3 separate regions of the Homo sapiens genome follow, and all the other regions are linked to region 1. Evidence: promoter capture Hi-C in human tissues and cell types (Jung and others, 2019). All regions are on one chromosome and are shown on one strand. Each heading gives the region's core, a stretch centred on a gene start or on the middle of the fragment in contact. The rest is flanking DNA. Distances are from core to core; before and after follow the strand shown.

Region 1 (4,434 bases), core at 1,322-3,821:
GCTGCTGCAAATAGTTCTCCTCTTCATGGTGTGTGTCTGTCCTACTAGATACAAGGCACCTGGCACATAGTAAGTGCTCAAATGAATAATTATCGTATCAAGTTTTCCCGACTCCCAGGGCAGGAGTTTTTCCTTGGTACCATACAGCTTTCAGCTGTGGTGACTGAGACCCCATGTCATTTTGGATCTAGTTTCTACTCTAAGGCCTAAGATCAGGCTTGGCTCTACTAGGCAGAGGCGGGGACCCGGCCTTGAGGCAGGTGCCCAGAAACCTTCACACAAGGATCGAGCCAGACAGACATCAAATCTGGGAGCATCTTTCCAGGTAACAAGGCCCCAACCACCTGGTGGATGAGGGGCAGGTGGACTAGGGGCTGCCTGCCCAGCACATATGCTCAGGGCTCACAGGACCCAACTCTGCCATGCTCTGCAAGCTGCCCCTACTCACCTTGGTGCCTGCTGCACACCAGCCTGGGCAGAGGCTGCCAAACCTCTGGCAGGGACATACTTACCAGGTTGGTGGGGAGAAAAATGGCCACTTTCAATTTCAATTTTTAAGGAATCTCCAACTTTTAGGGGTCTGGGAGGAAGTGGTTAGAAGACTCCTCTTTTTTTTTTTTTTTTGAGACGGAGTCCCACTCTGTCACCCAGGCTGGAGTGCAATGGCGTGGTCTCGGCTCACTGCAACCTCCGCCTCCCGGGTTCAAGCAATTCTCCTGCCTCAGCCTCCTGAGTACCTGGGACTACTGGCTGGTGTGTGCCACCACACCTGGCTAATTTTTGTATATTTAGTGGAGAAGGGGTTCACTATGTTGGCCAGGCTGGTCTCCAATTCCTGACCTCGTGATCTACCCGCCTTGGCCTCCCAAAAGGATTATTTGCGTGAGCCACCACTCCCGGCCAGAAGACTCCTTTTAACGTCTTGTGTTATGAGTGTTTGTTAAGGGGGGCAAGAGTTGTGTTTCTTAATTTCATGTCTCCCATATAGGGCTAAACTCCCAATTTAACTTATTAGGGAAAGGAGGTGTCTTCTACACAGTGCCTCCGTTTCCTAAAATTTTAAAAATAACTTTTTTGAGGATTGTAGGGAAAACATTTCTGTAACCTTTCCTGTCTCATATTGCTCCAGTTCTTTAAACATTACAAAAAAGAACATTTGATTTTTGAAGGTGGGGGCAGAGAGAAGATACCTGGTTACTCTTAATTTCCAATGCTTTTATTTTTGAAAAGTACCCTTGCAGTTTTCTTTTGGGGAGGGGCAAAGAAGGATTTCTGTTCACCTTGCATCTCATAGAAGAGCAATTCTTAACATTTTTATTCCAAAAATCAACCAGTTGTGGGAGATGTAGGATGGATCCAGTAATCCCTCCTTGTCTCTATAATAGGGCAGGTCCTTCATACTTTCAATTTTTAAAAAATCGGATTTTTTAGGAGAATAGGGAAGAGAATAGAAAAAAAAATCCCTTTTAAACTTTCCCAAGTCACAAGGAGGCAGTTGCTCAAGTTAAAAAAAAAAAAACAACAATAACAACAACAAAAAAACTGGCTATTTTGGGGTGTTGGAAAGAAATATCCTGGTTCACGTTTTATTTCACATGCAAGTTTCTCAAATTTTCCTTCTCTAAATCAACCTAACTGGGGGATATGGGGGTGGGGGGCGCTAATATCCCTTAACCTTTAACCCCTCTTGTCTTACTGTAGGACCAGTTTTTCAAACTTTTATTTAGAAATACATATATATATTTTAATTTGGCAAGGATAGGCAGAAACAGCCGCTTCACTGGCATTTCACATAAAAGCGGCTCCTCAAGTATTTATTTTAAAAATCAGTCTGGCTGGGGGGCTAGAGTCCCCTTAACCACTCTTGTCGGACATGGGGCCAGTCCTTCAAACTTTTATTTTATTACATTAGTTTTTTTGGGAGGAGTGGCAGGGCAATAGAATATTCCCAATAAGCCTTCCAGTCTTCCAGCAAGCCAGCTCTTGAAAACTTTTATTTCAAAAATCAATCTGGTTTTTTTTTGGCGGGGGGGTACAGCGGGGTACAGAGTTCCCATTAACCTCTTGCGTTCCGCCGAGAGCCGGCTCCCTGAACTTTTTTTCCAGCGTGAAAATGACATTTCCGAGGGGCTGGGGGACTGGGGGAGGGCAGAAGGGAGCCGGGGAGCGGGCGCGGGGGGCGCGGGGAGGGCAGGGCGCGGCGCGGGAAAGTTTGGGGGGGCGGGTGTGCCGCGGCACTGGGGCTGGCGGACGGGAGGGCGGGCGCGCCCCTGGACCGGCCGGCTTTGTGTGCCACGCGGAGGCCGGCAGCGCGGAGGCCGAGGCCGAGGCCCCGAGCTCGCGGGCCGCACGGCGAGGCCGGCCCGGGGGCGGGCAGGGCGGCGGGGGGCGGCGGCGGCCCCGCGAGGGGCGGCTCGGCGGCAGCGGCTGCCGCGGCGCGGCCGGTGCGGGCCGGGGGTGGGGGCGAGGGCCGGCGCCCCCCCCGCGCGCCCCCAGCGCCCCCGCCCCCCCGGCCTGAGCGGGGCGGGCGGAGGAGGGAGCGGCGGCGGCGGCGGCGGCGGCGGCGGCGGCATTGTGCGCGCACCAGCAGCCCGGCCCGGGAGGAGCAGGACGCGCCGGGGCCGCCTCCTCCCGCACGGACCCATGAACCAGCCGGGCGGCGCGGCGGCTCCGCAGGTACGACGGGGGGCCGGGGGCATGCACCGCGCGGGGGACCCCGGGGGGCCGGGGCCCGGGGCGCTGCGCCACTTCATTGCAAGATTTGCAAAATGCAAAGTGCCTGGGCACGTTTGCGGGCTTTTTGTGGGCGCAATCGGGAGGGTCGGGGTCCGGAGAGCACCCCCCCGGGCGCTGCGGGGTGCGAGGAGGGTGGGGGTGACGAGGGGGTCTTTTGGGGCCCCCACCCAGCGCCCCCTCCGGCCCCGGGCTCGGACCGGAGCCCAGAAAACAAAGCGGCGAGAGAACAGAGCAGCCATTTCAGTTTGGACAATTCACATTTTGCAAAAATGCAACCCCTTCCAGCTCTGCCCCCTCCCCCCCAAATTTGCAATTTTCCCCTGACCCTCTCTGCGCTCGGGGTCCCCGATGACCCCCCGGGAGGTCTTTCCCCCCAGGTCCCCCATTTTTGCAACAATCTTTTTTTTTAGGCCATATTTTCCTTTCTCAATTTTTTTTTTCTAATTTTTCTTCAAACGGTAGTTTTTTCCCATTAAAACGACGCCACCTAGAGGATACTATTTTGTAAATAAAAAAGAAATTAAAATTGAAAAGAAATATTTTTTATTTCTTATTTTTTCAAAAGTTTGCACTACCAGGCAGTGGAGGGGTAAGAGATTCTTTTTTTTTCTTTTTTCGGGTGAAAATTTTCACTTTGATCTTTCCAGAAGCATGGAGACAATTTTTATTTCTGAAGCCAAATCCAGATAATATGTAAATGAAAATTAAGCTGGAATTTGAATGAATTTAGTTCTTGGAGGGGAGAAAGCAAAAAACCTCCTAAAAGCAAAGTCAGTTTGGGTACCCAACTCATTTTAGTTTGAGAAAAAAACTAATTGGAATAAAGAAAGGAGGGAAATTGTTGAGTTTAGGGAAAACTGAGAGAATTGGCTTTATGAAGCAATTAGAAATTGTACTTCATTGTAATTTGGAACTTGTTTAGCTCAGCGGGCAAAAAAAGACTAATTTCTCTATATGGCAATATTTAAAGTTTTTCTATTTCCACGAACGAAGGATTTAAAAGAGAAAATAGAACCTAAAATGTTGGCTTTGGACACACCCAAAAATTGTAGTTTTTTTTTTTTAATTTTGCATTTACATTTTACTGCATTTAAATCCTAAGATTCTAAAGAAAACAGAAACTAGAAAAGTTACAGTGAAATCCTTTCTTTCTTTTTTTCTGTATTTGTTGGGTTTTGTGTGTGTGTGTGTTTTTTTTGTTTTGATGGAATAATTAAGACTGTTTTCTGATTTTGTTTCCTGAAAGGTCTAGGCATTTCTTTTTTGTTGTTGTTTTATCCAGAAAATGTCAGGAACCTTTTTTGAGCAATATTAAGTGGAAAAAATGTAAATTCATACATTATACAAATTGAGTAGCCCACAGATTTGTAGGAGAGACCGCCATTAAAATAAGATATGCATAATTAACATTATTATGAAAAAACTAACAGTGGATTCACAGAAGCTCATTTTTTATGACATGCAACTGAATCAATTGATGAAGACAAGGATTGAGGAATCCTTGGTAAGGAAGAAAATTTTCCCTTTTCTGTCTTGTTCACCCTTCCAATTTGAAAAATTTATTACTTAAAAAAAATTTAGATTGGTTTCAGGCCTCTTTGATTGTGATGTGGGGTTGGTAGTTTATCAATATTTGTTATTTTTCAAAAACCTGATTACTTTCAAAGGGGGAAAAATCCATTAGCCTTGATCATTTTG
Region 2 (4,434 bases), core at 1,276-3,775, 54 kb before region 1:
TCTTCCGACACACAGAGCTGAACAAGTTCACCTGCAGATCATGGCACAAAAAATGTTAAAGGAAGTCTTAAAAACAAAGAGAAAATGATGTTAGATGAAAATGTGAATCCACAAAAGGAATAAAGATCCCCAGAAAAGGCACCCATCTGGGTAAATAAACTAAATAAATAAATGTCTTACTATTTAAATGTCTTCAAAAGATAATTGACTATTTGAAGAAAAATAATGAAATGGGGTTATAACATATGTAGAAATAAAATGTAGGATAAAAATTAGCCCAAAGTTTGGGGATGGAAAAATGGAAGTATACAGTATATAGAGTAGTGAAGTGTTAAATTATCACTTGATGGCAGACTATGATAAATTACAGATGTATACTCTAAGCCCTAAAGTAATCACTTAAGTAGGAGATATATAACTAATAATCCCATAAAAGAGATCAAATCGAATCGTTTAAAAACGTAGTTAATCCAAATGAAGGTAGAAGTAGACAGAAAAGGTAAAAAAAGAACAGATAGAACCAAAAGAAGACATATAAAAAACTAATAGATTCAAACCTAACCATATCAATAACATTAAATGTAAATTGTCTAAACTCCCCAATTAAAAGTAAGAGATTATCAAATTGTATTTTTTAAAAATAGTCAACTATATGCTTTTTAAAGTCACCCACACTAAATATAAAGACACAAATACTTTTAAAGTATCAAAAACAATAAATCATGCTAATGTTAATCAAAATAAAGCTAGAATGTATGTTTAAAGTCAGACAAAATAGACTTTAGATGATACTGATGAAGTCTCAGATGGAAATGAGGGATAGGTTATTGGACAATGGAGAAAAGGTAATCCTTGTTAAAACCTAATGTTCTGTGAAAAGTGGAACTTGTGAGTGATGACATTGGATATGTAACTGAGAAAATTTCTAAGCAAAGTGTTGAGGTGGTGTGGTTCCTCCTGACTGCTAATGGTAAAATGCAAGAAGAGAGAAATAGATTGACGATGGAATTGTTAAGCAGAAATACCCAGACCATAAAGATTTGGAAATTTCTCAATTCTTTGCAGAGAGCAAAGAATATAACCAGAGATAAACAGGATCATTTCATAACACTAAAGGAGCCAATTCATCAGGATGCAACAATCCTGAAGGCTTATGTTCCTTTAAAAAAGCTTCAAAGCCTATGAAGCAAAAATTAATACAACTGCAATAGTTACACAAACCAACAACCAAAGTTGAGGATTTCAACACTCCTTTCTCAATGGACAGAACAAGTAGACAAAAAAATCAGAATGTAGAAGAGTCAAAGAGCATTCTCAATCAACACGACCTATTTGACGCTTAGAAAACATACTACCCAATAATAGCAGACTATACGTTCTTTTTAAGTGTACATAGAATATTTACCAAAATAGACCGTATTATGGGCCATGAAAGACATCTCAATTTAAAAGAATTCAAGTCATACAAAGTATACTCTTTGACCACAGTGTAAATAAATTAGGAACCAATAACAGAAATATATCTTGAAAACTGCCAAATATTTGAAATCTAAATAATATACTTCTAAATAACCCCAAAAGAAACAAAAGAGGAAATTACAAAGTATTTTGAAATGAGTCAAAATAAAAACACGACATATTAAAATTTGTGGGATGCAGCTGAAGCTGTACTTAGAAATTTATACCATTAAACGCCTATTAGGAAAGAAGAAAGTTCTCAAATCATTATCTAACCTGTCATCTTGAGAAACTAGAAAGAAGAGAGAATGAAACAAAGTACACAGTAGAAAGAAAATAATAAAGATCACAATGGAACTTAATTAGAAAAAGCAAAATGATACAGAAAATCAATGAAATAAAAAGTTCTTTTAGAAGATCAATAAGCTCTATAAATCTCTAGCTAAGCTGATAAGAAAATGATTACATCATATGATAATCTCAATATATGCAGAAAAGCCTGTGACAAAATTCAACATTCGTCTATGATAAAGCTCTCAGAAACCCTAAATAGAAGCTGACGAAAGGGATCTATATAAAATGTACAGTTAATATTATGCTTAATGATGAAACAGGAATATTTTCTTTAATATTTTCTGTTAATATCAAAGACCAATAATATCTCTCACCACTGCTAATCAACATTGTACTGGAGATTCTAGCCAGATCAATCAGGCAAGAAAATACATAAACATATACAGATTGTAAAGGAAGAAGTAAAACTGACTTTGTTCACAAATGACTTAATTAGGTACATAACAAATAATCTAATAAAACACTTCAAATCTAATAAATGGGTAACAGATTTGCAGAAGACAAAGTCAATATACAAAGGTCAATAGTATGGAATTCCACCTCTGGGAAGATGGAGTAGATGTAGATTTCCCTATTGCTCCCATTAAGTACAACTAGACACCCTGGATGTAATGTATGTTTTTAAAATAAAAAGAACTCTGAAAGGTCCCAGACTGACAAGGGACTTCAGACTCAAAGAACCACATGGCAGCAATTTCTCTTGGTTTTCTTTTTGCCTCATATACCCCACACTGGGTACTAGATCACGTAGCAACATGAAAACACCAATAAAAGTGTGATGGTTGATTTTGTGTGTCAACTTGAGTAGGTTATGGGATACCCAGGTTGCTGACTAAACATTATTTCTGGGTGTGTCTGTGAGGGTATTTGCAAAAGATTAGCACTTGACTTGGTGAACTGAGTAAAGCAGAGGGCCCTATCCAGTATGGGTGGGCATAATCCAATCTGTTGAGGGCCTAAATAGAAGAAAAAGATGGAAGAAGGTTAAATTTACTCTCTGGCTGACGGAATGAGCTGGAATATCAATTTTCTCCTGACCTTGGCACCATGGTTTTCAGAGCTCAGGCCAGGCTGGAATCTGTACCATTCACTCTCTGGTTTTCAGGCTTTCAACTACACCATTGGTTTTCCTGGGTCTACAACTTACAGAGAGCAGATTATAAGAATTCTCAGCCTGCATAATAATGTACACCAATATCTTATAATACATTTCTTTATATATTTTATTGTATCTATTTCTCTGAAGAACTCTAACACCAATATTGGTACTGAAAACTGGGATGCTGCTGTACTAAATATCTAAAAATGTGAAAAATGTGAAAGGATTTGGAACTGGGAAACAGGTAGAGGCTGGAAGCATTTTGAGGTGCATCCTTAAAAAACCGACATTGCCATGAAGGGACTTTTGAAGGCAATTCTGCTGAGGGCTCAAAAAGAAAAGAGAAGAGCTGTAGATAAATCTTCTGTGGTTTATAGAGAATACATGAATAATCACATATAGAATTGGTATAAATATGATTGTTGAGGGAAATTCTATGAGGTCTCAGGTGGAAATAAGAAATACGTTATTGAACAATGGAGAAAATGTAATCCTTGTTAAAATCTAGTGTTTTGTGGAAGGTAGAAATTGTAAGTGATGACACCAGATATTTAGCTAAGAAAATTTCTAAGCAAAGTGTTGGAGTGGTATGGTGCCTCCTGACTGCTAACAGTAAAATGCAAGAAGAGAGAAATAAGTTGAAGATAGAATTGTTAAGCAGAAAAGATCCAGAACTTAAGATTTGGGAAATTCTCAGTCTATCCATATTGCAAAAAATGAGAAACCATGTTTGGAAGAGAACATCAATAAATGGGCCAGCCAATCATTTAATAAGGAGATTAGTGTGGATGCAGACCACAGACCTTATCAGCCATCTCAACAGATGCCAAAAATAGAAATGGGACTGTACCAGTAAAAACACTGCCAGCAGGAACTAAAGGAAATGGAGAAAATGGAATGGAATGAAGGAAGGCTGTGAATATATGTGAATATCCTTCAAAAAGAAGAAGGACTCCAAATGCAATTGAGAGATCATCAACAGGGCAGATGGCCTCCAACAGAAGCCATGCGGGTAGGACTGCCCAGCAGCTCAGGGGGCATGATCCCCACACAGCAGAACCGTGACATACGTGGGGCCACCACAGAGAGACATACATGGGCAATGCCCTGCTGAGCTGTGGGGGTGACATTGCCACGACAGTGGGTGAGGAAGACAAATTATCAAGCCAAAGAAGACTACTCTTGAAGTTTAAGATCTCATGGAGTTTGCCTTGATAGGTTTTGGGCTTGCTTGGGACTTGTCACCCATTTTTTCTGTACTAATTTTCCCTTTTAGATTGGAAATGTTTATCGTATGCCTGTTCCACCATCATATTTTGGAAGCATATCATTTGTTTTCACAGTTTCACAGCTGGGGAATTTTGTTTCAGGATGAATCATACCTTGAATCTCACCCATATCTAGCTTAGATGATATTTAGATGAGAATTTAGACTTACTGCTGAAAAAATGTTGAGACTTTTGGAGTTGTTAGATTGAAATGAATGCATTTTGCATACAAGAAGGACATGAATTTTGAGGAGC
Region 3 (4,434 bases), core at 968-3,467, 34 kb before region 1:
GTCTTAGTATTATTGTAAAAACAGTTTCGTTGTCACAGACTCCTGAAAGGGTCTAAGATATCCCCAGGGGTCATCAACCTACATGTTGAGAACCGTTTCCCTAAATATCTTGCATTTCCTAAAGCATATCCTATGAAGCCACACTGCCTTCTATGAAATGGACCAAACTGGTGAAGAATGCTGCAGAAAATTGTTCTGATGTCACTACGATGGAAGGCCCATTTATCAGCAGTTGTTGTCATGTGCTACAGCCATTAGCTTGAATGACAAATTTATATTAGAATATTTATTACGTATTAGTTCGTTCTCACATTACAATAAAGAACTACCTGAGACTGGGTAGTTTATAGAGAAAAGAGGTTTAATTGGCTCACAGTTCCACAGGCTGTACAGGAAGCATGGTTGGGGAAGGCCTCAGGAAACTTACAATCATGGCAGAAGGCCAAGGAAGAAGGAGGCACGTCTTACACAGCCAGAGCAGGAAGAAGAGAGAGTGAAGGGGGTGGTGCTACACACTTTTAAACAACCAGATCTCGTGAGAACTCACTCTCTATTACAAGAATAGCAAGGGTGGAAATCTGCCCCCATGATCAAATCACCTCCGACCAAGTCCCTCCTCCAACATTGAGGATTACAATTCGACATGAGATTTGGGTATGGACACAAATCCAAACCCTATCATATTATTAACAGATTTTGCTGTACCTAGCTGTTACTGGTATACTATCAACTAATGCTAAAGTATTTTAAAATTTAAAGACTGGTAAGACATACTGGTAAATAGCTCAGAATGCCAGCCCTGCTGAGAGGTATATATTTAAAAGGGAGAGTTACAATTGTCATTCTTCGTAGCTGATGTATTGACCTATGAAAGCCAAGAAGATCAAAGGAAAAAATATTCAAAGCATTTAGTAAGAATTTGTAGTGCAAAAATATCAACAATGTATGTGTATATGAATAGCTATATGTAGATCTACATCTATAACTAGCTTTTCTATATAGCAAGGATAATTTCAACTTAATAAAAATATGCATAACATTGTGAAGAACAGAACTTAACTGGGGAACATAAAAGAAGATACATTATTATCCTAAATGGAAGGATTCAATATTGGAACTCTCCTCAAATTAATCTGTATGTTAACACTATCTCTATCAAAATCTTGCTATTTTTATACTTGATACAATTATTTTAAAGGTATTTATATAGGTATTAAATTTTATTTAAAAAATGCAAGAATAGAAAAAAGCTGGAAAAAAATAAGGTGGGGTGTATTGGATCTGCTTTACTAAATGTTAATATGTGCTAAAAGTTTGCAATATGAAAATAATATAGTTCTAAGACAAGAATAAATGAAGACACTAACAAAACAGAATAGAAAGTCCTCAAAAGACTCAAGGCGTACAGCAATTCAGTATATTATAAGGACAGCATCTCAAAATCAAAGGAAAAAGAACAACTATTCAATAAATGATGGTACAACTGGCTAGCCATTTTTAAAAAAAGAAAGTTGGATGCCTAACTCACATCATACACCAAAGTAAATCCCAGTAACATGAAAGACATAAACATCAGTGAGACATTTAGAGCAATTAGACAAAAATATAGAGGAATATTTACATAATCTCGAAATAGAAAGGGCTCTTTTAACCATTATAAAATAGTTGTATAAAAATAATGAGTAAAGTAAAAAATAAACTAATCTATGAGAAAAATTTGAACATTCCAATAGAAAAGTGGACAGGAGCATACTTATGAATAAACACAGGCAGCCAGTAAGCATAAGAAAAGATGCTTAACTCAGCTATAATTAGAGAATGAACATAAAAGCAAGATATCAGTTTTCACTCATCATGTTGGTCACAAGTAGAAAAAACCATGCCGTCTATTGGCTAGAGTATGGAGAAAGAAAGGTTTCAATTAGAGCAGTCGCTTGAGGTGGGAGTGGAGTAACAACTTGGAAGTACTTAGTCAAGTTCTTAAAATATTCATAATCTTTAATGCAGTAATTCCATATTTAAGAAAATATTCAGGAATGTTTATAACAATGAATGCTCAAGATACTTTTTACAATATTACCTATCGATAAAAAATCAAAAATGACATAAATGGACAAAACATGGGTTTGGTATATTCATATAAGAAGAGGTATACTATGTTCTTATATATCACATAGCATATATACTATATAATAAAGTTATGGTATAATCATATGAAATATACTGTCACAAAATGTTATATTTTACTTGGAGAAGAGTTCATGATACAATTTGATTCATAAAAGCATCATTTCAAGCAGCACATAAACTTTGATGTCATTGTTTTTAAAAGCTTATTACTCATACATCTGTATTATATGTAAGCGTAGAAAGTATTTGTCAAGCTTTATACTAAAATACTAACACTCATCAGCTTTAATGGTAAGCTTAAAGATGATTTTACTTTTCGCTCTTTTTGCTGATCTGTATTTTTTCAACACTTAGACACGAATGACTTCTACAATAATATATATATTTTAAATATTGCTTAGGTTGCCACCCATTAAGTATGGTCCTTAATATTTCAAAGGAGTGTGCTCTGTTGGCTTCATACAAAGGGGAAGAGGAGAATTGGGCTCAGAAGGACTGGCTCAGTCTCCTGGAGACTGATGTTGTTGGCTCATATAAATGGTAAAAATGTACAGTGAGAGAAGACTGCCAACCCGCCTGGGTGTCTGGAGAGGTGGAGTCCACGAGCATCCACCATGGGCTGGAAGGAAAGCTATCTCAGGTGCCCCACGAGCATCCACCTCGGGCTGGAAGGAAAGCTATCTGAGGTGCCCTAGACTCCCAGACAGTCAGGGAGTGTTCTGTGGGTTGAGTTGCCCCATCTCATGGGCCTGTGGCTCTGGTCCTCTCTGCCAGGGAATCAGACACCGGTCCCTGCTGAGTGTGGGCTCCACATGTCCCAGTCACCTTTCTAATTCTGGCTTTATTGATTTCTGGGATGAACAACCACCATTCTCCTTTATGTCCAATGGTGTTACCAAGAAGGGTAAATATGACCGTGCTCAGCTCACAGCTCCCATCTTCTGCCTCACCAAGCTCCTTGTTCAGCCAAGTGACATAGCACCCCACATTATTATCTACTGACAGGCCTGTGTCTGTCATCAGACTTTGCTTCCACTAGCTCAAGAACCCACCTGGTTTGTATCTGCGGCTCTAGCATTTGGCCAGATGCAGTAAACCTGTTGCTAATCCTCGGAAATTTGAGATGAAATTTCATTTTGCCTGCTGTTCCCCAATACCATTCACACATTCAAACAAGCGGTCATTGAGGAACATCTGTGCCTAATAAATACCTGCTTTTCTGCCTAAACAGCACCCACCAGCAACTGACAAACATCTGTCAGTGATTAGTGAGAAGTACAGAGTGGCAGGGTATTGGCCTAAGCTGAGAAAGAGCTGGATTCCTTCCTCCCTCTCCTTCCGCATGGTCCCCTCACAAGGAAGGGCAAGCCCAGGATTTGGACAGAGTATTCCAAGAGCACAGAATTTGGGGATCAAATGATGGCTCGGTCACTTAGAAGCTGTGTCATCTTCAGCAACTGACTTCACCTCTCTGATCCTGTTTCTTTGATTGTAAACTTGAGACTAATAAGTGCACACCTTATGAAACACTTTTGATTATTATATGAAATAATGTATGTAAAGTGCATAGCCTCAGGTCAATAAGTGGAGCTTTAGTTGTTGCTGTTCTTATTCTGGTGATGATGATATGTATTAGATGAGTTAACTCTGGTGAGACTGAAGGACCTTGCCTTGTGTGTTAGGCTGTCCTTGTGTTGCCATAAAAAAACTTCTGAGGCTGGGTCATTTATAAAGAAATGAAGTTTAATTGACTTATGGTTCTGCAAGCTTCAAGGAAGCATGGTGGGGGCATCTGCTTGGCTTCTGGTGAGGCCTCAAGAAGCTTACAATCATGGTGAAAGGTGAAGGGGAGCAAGAGAGAGAGAGAGAGTGGGAGAGAGGTGCCGCACACTTTTAAATAACCAAATCTCATAAGAACACACTCACTATTGTGAGGACAGTACCAAGCCATGAGGGATCCACCTGCATTACCCAAACACCTCCCACCAGGCCCCATCTCCAATACTGGGGATTACAATTCAACAAGATATTTGGAGGGGACATCCAAACTACATCACCTGGACCTCATCACTGTTTGCCATGCCCTTAGACTTGGGTCATGGTGAGACTGGAGAACTCCCATATGACAGATGAGGCTACTGAGGCCCAGAGGAGATGTGACTTGCTCAAGGTCACCAAGTAAGCCTGTCATCATGACCATCAAGACCCAAGTCTTCTTTCCAGGCAAATGCCTTCCATCAAGGCACATGTTCCCTCTGAGGAAGAATTGGGCCTTTAAAAAAGAAATTTAGCCTCTAGGAGGAA

What was found. Contacts are between HindIII fragments. The study calls those that stand out against the background at their distance.
Region 2: a contact is called between a fragment that was not itself captured here and the fragment with the promoter of ZNF618 in region 1, in 1 of the 25 tissues and cell types used here (hippocampus).
Region 3: a contact is called between a fragment that was not itself captured here and the fragment with the promoter of ZNF618 in region 1, in 5 of the 25 tissues and cell types used here (IMR-90 fibroblasts, heart right ventricle, mesenchymal stem cells and 2 more).

The regions. Positions count from the first base shown.
Region 1 is chr9:113,873,738-113,878,171 of GRCh38, forward strand. ZNF618 (zinc finger protein 618) reads left to right here and starts at 2,572. Exons shown (of 15, transcript NM_001318042.2): 1 at 2,572-2,676. The coding sequence starts at 2,644. RefSeq lists enhancers at 1-495, 496-996. The HindIII fragment of the contact is 30,531 bases long and covers 1-4,434 here.
Region 2 is chr9:113,819,868-113,824,301 of GRCh38, forward strand. No RefSeq gene overlaps it. Among named protein-coding and RNA genes, the nearest start is that of ZNF618, 54 kb to the right of the region's middle. The HindIII fragment of the contact is 8,763 bases long and covers 1-4,434 here.
Region 3 is chr9:113,839,949-113,844,382 of GRCh38, forward strand. No RefSeq gene overlaps it. Among named protein-coding and RNA genes, the nearest start is that of ZNF618, 34 kb to the right of the region's middle. The HindIII fragment of the contact is 3,413 bases long and covers 512-3,924 here.